2 separate regions of the Homo sapiens genome follow, and region 1 is linked to region 2. Evidence: promoter capture Hi-C in human tissues and cell types (Jung and others, 2019). All regions are on one chromosome and are shown on one strand. Each heading gives the region's core, a stretch centred on a gene start or on the middle of the fragment in contact. The rest is flanking DNA. Distances are from core to core; before and after follow the strand shown.

Evidence for each region. Contacts are between HindIII fragments. The study calls those that stand out against the background at their distance.
Region 1: a contact is called between a fragment that was not itself captured here and the fragment with the promoter of CNIH1 in region 2, in 1 of the 25 tissues and cell types used here (hippocampus).

What each region holds. Positions count from the first base shown.
Region 1 is chr14:53,208,565-53,211,616 of GRCh38, reverse strand. All of the region lies in intron 5 of LOC105370502 (a long non-coding RNA gene), which reads right to left. Among named protein-coding and RNA genes, the nearest start is that of DDHD1-DT, 57 kb to the right of the region's middle. The HindIII fragment of the contact is 4,655 bases long and covers 1-3,052 here.
Region 2 is chr14:54,439,865-54,443,121 of GRCh38, reverse strand. CNIH1 (cornichon family member 1) reads left to right here and starts at 1,748. Exons shown (of 5, transcript NM_005776.3): 1 at 1,748-1,875. The coding sequence starts at 1,795. RefSeq lists enhancers at 1,405-1,464, 1,341-2,139 and silencers at 1,545-1,814, 1,855-2,214, 2,225-2,274. The HindIII fragment of the contact is 6,683 bases long and covers 1-3,257 here.

The sequences.
Region 1 (3,052 bases), core at 136-2,635, 1.2 Mb after region 2:
TTTTTCTTAGAAATAGGCCAATGTACCTCCCAAAGAAAGTGCCCTCAACATTAAGGATGCCAAGTGTCAGATGTCACAGCATGTGGTCCTAAAAAGCTGACTTCCAGAGTGCTCCATTGTTTTTTGTTGTTTGTTTGTTTTGAGACAGAATTTCGCTCGTTGCCCAGACTGGAGTGCAATGGCGCGAACTCGGCTCACTGCAGCCTCCGCCTCCCAAGTTCAAACAATTCTCCTGCCTCAGCCTCCTGAAAGTAGCTGGGATTACAGGCACCCGCCACCACACCCAGCTAATTTTTGTATTTTTAGTAGAGACGGGTTTTCACCATGTTGGCCAGGCTGGTCTCGAACTCCTGACCTGAGGTGATCCACCCACCCCAGCCTCCCAAAATGCTGGGATTACAGGCATGAACCACCGTGCCCGGTTTCCGTTGTTTTTATAGTCTGTCTTAAAGAAGCAGAGTCAGGTGACTTTAAAAAAATCTATTTTAAGAAAAATTATCAAATAAAAATCCACAGCTACACAGAAGATATATTAGAGAGTGTTCTTTCAAACAAAATAAAGATCTTAATAGCATACCTTTAACTTATAAGTAAGTCACCAGAGTTCCTATAAAATATAATCCAGTCTTCTACTCAATTTCTACCAACTCTTCACAAAGACATCTGTGCCATAATGTAAGGAATGTTTATAGGGTTAACTTTGATCTTGGTGTTTAAAAAAGCAGCCCAGATAATACAAAACTTTCTAGACTTGGAGTGATCTGTTTTAACATTGTACTAGAAACGGGCTACATAATCCATTTCAGGTCCCTGAATCCTGGGTTTCAATCAGCAGATGCTGGAATCTCCTCTTGCCAAAATGTGAATTAAAATATCTCGTACAGTACTAGGAAGAGGTACTCGGCCAACACTGCCAACTCTAGTGTTGCTGCAGCTGAGTCTCAGAATGATAAAGAGAAGCTCAGTTATGCATTTGGTCAAACCAAAGCTGAGTGCAGGAACTAAGTAAACCTCTCACAAGCCTCTTACCCTTTAAGAATAAAAGATTGAGGAGAGGATGTGGAGAAATAGGAACACTTTTACACTGTTGGTGGGACTGTAAACTAGTTCAACCATTGTGGAAGTCAGTGTGACAATTCCTCAGGGATCTAGAACTAGAAATACCATTTGACCCAGTCATCCCATTGCTGGGTATATACCCAAAGGACTATAAATCATGCTGCTATAAAGACACATGCACACGTATGTTTATTGTGGCACTATTCACAATAGCAAAGACTTGGAACCAACCCAAATGTCCAACAATGATAGACTGGATTAAGAAAATGTGGCACATATACACCACGGAATACTATGCAGCCATAAAAAATGATGAGTTCATGTCCTTTGTAGAGACATGGATGAAATTGGGAATCATCATTCTCAGTAAACTATCACAAGGACAAAAAACCAAACACTGCATATTCTCACTCATAGGTGGGAATTGAAGAATGAGAACACATGGACACAGGAAGGGGAACATCACACTCTGGGGACTGTTGTGGGGTGGGGGTAGGGGGTAGGGATAGCATTAGGAGATATACCTAATGCTAAATGACAAGTTAATGGGTGCAGCACAGTAGCATGGCACATGTATACATATGTAACTAACCTGCACATTGTGCACATGTACCCTAAAACTTAAAGTATAATAATAATAAAATAAAATAAAATAATAATAAAAAAAAGGAAAAAAAACAAAATTACTTTCACACATACAGACTTAGTATCACTCATAATACAAAAGAAATGTTTAATAAATGTGTACTAGATTAATAAAAGAAATAAAAGACTGAAATAATAACCTTTAGAAGACTAATAGTTAAAATTCTTCATTAGGTACAACTCTTATGATGTACCTTTTCTGATAATCTTACATTTCCAGGCAATTGTAATTGTCAAAGAGATATTTGAAACAGCATGATTTGTATTCATGTTAAAAAAAAAAAAAAGATGACAATGTGCCAAATTCAATAAATTGTGCTATTGTGAAATATAACCATCTGACGGAAAGGAGAAGTGCCAGGAATTGGCCAAAGGGTTCTCTACACATAAATTTCCTAACGGACTGAAGTTTGTATTCTTATGGCTGAACTCAAAACACAAAAATGCTTTGTACATATTAAGGAAAAGCATTATTAAACCTAAGATCCAGCTTTTATTCCCCTCTAATTAACTCAGCACCTTGAAATCTGGTTTCCAGTTTTATCCTTTTTCTGAAACTTTTCTAAGATTAGCAATGGCATCCCACAGAAAAGAGAACAGGTGCCAGAAATCTGGAGAATATCTTTTCCCCCACTGATTTTCAACAAAGGGAAGAATATAAATTATATAAAACAAAATGGGTGGCAAATAAATCCACCATTGATTCTAGGAAAATCTCTAGAATTATTTTAAATATATTAAACACTTAGAAAATTGTGATCACAAGGAATTACACTGAATTCAAGAACACTCATGACAAACATTTTTTCCTAAGATTCGTAATGTGGTAAAAATCTCAGAACTGCTATAGGTACTAAAAATCTGCATTTCAGCAGTCATGATGTCCTTATGGACAAGATGAATAAAGCGACTGCTCAAAAGTACACATAGAACCAAACCCAAAGAATGCTGAGTTATGAGTCAAAGTCACCGCGGACAGAGATTTCCAAAAGCATTCCCCAGAGCACCGACCTTGTCCCTAACTACTTCAAGCTCTTACTGACAACTTGAATGAGGGTATTTGTGGCCCAGTGATCAAATTTTCAGACAATTTGAAGGTAGGAAATGCCATTAATGGTAAATAACTGAATTAGATCACAAAAAGGTCACAACTGTCTGCACCAATAGGCCAAATCTGACCAGATTTAATTTAACAGGACAAACATAAAGTACTACCCAACATTGGGTAGTTTACAAAGGAAAGAACTTTAATTGACTCAGTTCTGCAGGGCTTTGGAGGCCTCAGGAAACTTACAATCACAGTGGAAGGGGAAGCAAACATGTCCTTCTTCTCATGGCAGCAGGAAGA
Region 2 (3,257 bases), core at 499-2,998:
CCACGCCAACCCGGAACTCCAGCTGGCCCGCAAGCACCCTGCGCAGTCCCGGTTACCCCTCGCGCCTCTTCCTCTACACCTCCCTGCAAGCTGAGGGAGCTGGCTCTGGCCTTGGCCAGCCCAGAAAGGGGCTCCCATAGTGCAGCGGTGGGCTGAAGGGCTCCTCAAGTGCCGCCAAAGTGGCAGCCCAGGCAGAGGAGGCGCCGAGAGTGAGGGAGGGCTGTGAGGACTGCCAGCACGCTGTCACCTCTCAAGATCTCATTACCTTGTCCAGGCTGGTCTTGAATTCCTGAGCTCAAGTGATCCTCCTGTCTTGGCCTCCCAAAGTGTTAGGATTACAGGCATGAGCTGCTGTGCCTGGCCAAAAGTAACTTGATAATTTGCACACAGGTGCCACATAATCCTGGTGGTACAGGTTGTACTGTCCAATACACTAGCCACATTTTACTTAAAGTGATGTGAAATTTAAAGTTCAGTTCCTCAGTCATGCTAGACAATTTACAAGTGCCCAATGGCCACATGTGGCTAGTGGCTACTGTATTGGGCAATGTTTAGGTATCGAAAATTTTCACCATCACAGAAGGTTCTATTGCACAGCACTGGACAGACCCTGCTTCTAAACTATTCTACGCAATTTGCTAGGTGAACGATCTTTAATGCAAATCTAAACATGGTCTTCTTTTGCTCAAAAGCCTTCAATGATTTTCTCTTCCATCAGCAGCAATCAGTTAATAGAGTTTTTTTCTTTTAAAAATGGTTGTAATGGAAAGTTAAATCAATTTTGAATCAATTTTGTGTGTTAAGACCAGCATTAAAAACAAGTAGCAAAAGAGAGAAGGGAAAGTACTTATGGATCATTAGTACAGTTTTGTGAAATTTTTGTTTTGGTCATATCTATATTTCTTTGCCTCTATAACTAGATTTCCACCTCTTCATAACTTGATGTCTGTATGATATTCCACTGGGTTGCAATGAAAAAAATCTTTCTAGTTGTGTGTGGTGAGCAAAAAATTTGGGCTTATGGGATAAGAAGTCTGAGCTCCGTAATGAAGCATTATAAGGCCCTCTATGATCTGATCCCTTGCTAATTCATTTCTAAGTCTCACCACTGTCTTGCACTTAGGTTCCATTAATACAGAATTGCTGCTGGTTTCACCTGAGACACGAAGCTTTATTTTTCTTTTCTTTTTTCCATCTCTGTTGCGTTTCCTCATTCTGAACTGTTTCCTTGGACTGCCAGTTCTACCTTCTTTTTGCCTGGAGAACTTATCATCATCTAAGGCCAACTTAGGAAACACCTACAGCAGGAATCCTGCCTAAATGCTCCAGGGCGGGCTGGCTGTCCTTCTTTGACCTTTCAGAGCATCCCACACACATCCGTTTACGGGGTTATAATAACGTAATTATTTATTTAGGTGTTCATTTCCGGCACTATACTAAGTTCTTTCAGTGCAGGTACTATCTTATTCATCTTTGTATCTGAAGCGAGAAGCGCGGTACCTGTAACAAACTAGGCATTCATTCAATAAATATTTGTTGAAAGAATAAACGCAAGAAGGAAGGAAAAATCAATCAACAACTGTGCGGACAATGTCAGTGCAACGCAGACTCCGGCCATCAGAGGGCGCCGGGGCGGCTGGGCTGGTGCGCAGGCGCGCTGAGAGGGCTGGCGCCGCGGCGGTAGCGGTGGCGGTCGCGGCTGTGGCCGGGGGAAGTGAATGGTTTTACCCAGAGGGCCCTGCGCCGCCTTTCTCCGCTGGCAACGGCGCCGCTCCCCGCTCCTCCTCCCCAGCCATGGCGTTCACGTTCGCGGCCTTCTGCTACATGCTGGCGCTGCTGCTCACTGCCGCGCTCATCTTCTTCGCCATTTGGCACGTGAGTAGCTGGGGCTGGGGAAAGGAGGGCGAGGCGGCAACACAGCCTCTTTTCGCCCCGGGCCCGCGGTCCGGGCCGCCACGGCCGCCGGGGCTTTGCGCGTCGGGGATGCGGCCCGGCTGGCACGGGCCGCGCGGCGAGGGGTCTGGGGGCCGCGGGTACTGGAGGAGCCGGGGCGCGCAGTCGCCAGGTGGACGCGCCCGCGTTGCCTCGGCACAGGCCGCGCGCACCGCTACTCCTCCCCTACTGGATGGGGCGGCCGCGGTCCAGGCGGGCGCCCGCGGTTCCGCGCTGCGTTCGCACCGACCTCTGCCGGCCCGCGGCCCTGCATTCCCGGGGAGGATGTCGACAGCGCGGTGGGACGGCCGTAGTGTGAATGAAGTTTTCCGAATTTTTGTTAATACAGATTGACTTTCTTTTAGGGTTTCCACAGAACTGTGGCCAAAATGTAACCTACTTAGGGTGAATTTCCAACTCTACTTTTCAGCACTTGTTCGGTGCTCTTCAAATCAAATCACTTTTTTTCTCTTTTTCCAGATTGTTGTTTCCTGGTGAACTTTGATGCAAGTTCAATTGATTACTTTGTTGATTGCATGTGCGCGTTTCCCCCCCAAATCATACTTTGACCGCTGGAGTTTCAACAGGCAGCTTTCCAAGCCACCCTTATATTCAGGATTGCTTGATTTAGTAGAGGGAGTTTTCATTTGATTTTGAGATGCTCAGAAACCTTAAGCTTTTCTGGGGCAGTATTTATTTCTGTTACACACATCATCATCACTATTGCAGGGTGGAAGCACAGCCTTACTGGTCCCTCTAAGGAAAAAGTCGTAAGTTCCCTGTGACATAGTTCTACAGAGATAAGAATTTCTGTTGCTTTAGCACAAAATTAAAAGCCTTGAGAGCCTTCTGGAAATCATTCATTAAAAATTTATCTCATACTTGCTTCTCTTTTCCCCATATTCCAGTGCCTTCTGGAATGTTGCTTTTAATTTGAATGACCGCGTTCACTCTTACGTAGATTTTAAGTCAGGTTTCATCATGCCAGTAACAAGGATTTCTATGAAACATACGGAGGGGCAGAATGATTAAACAGCAGCAGCGTCTTGTGCAAAAAAGTCTCGAAAGTGGAAGCATATCACAAATCCATTCCTTTTTGCTAAGCAGTGTGATTATGTTTACAATTATTTTAGGACCTGACTGCTTATTGTAATCAGGAATACTTATGTAGGCTATTAACTGTGTCGGAAATAACTGCTACCTCAGAATGCTTGTCAGTAGGAGCAGTAATTTGAAGAGCATCTTCAGCCCTGCTTTGATGGAAGAACAATACCTAAGATAATTTGGGATACAGACTAGCTCAACCTTAGTAGGCCTCTGATGAA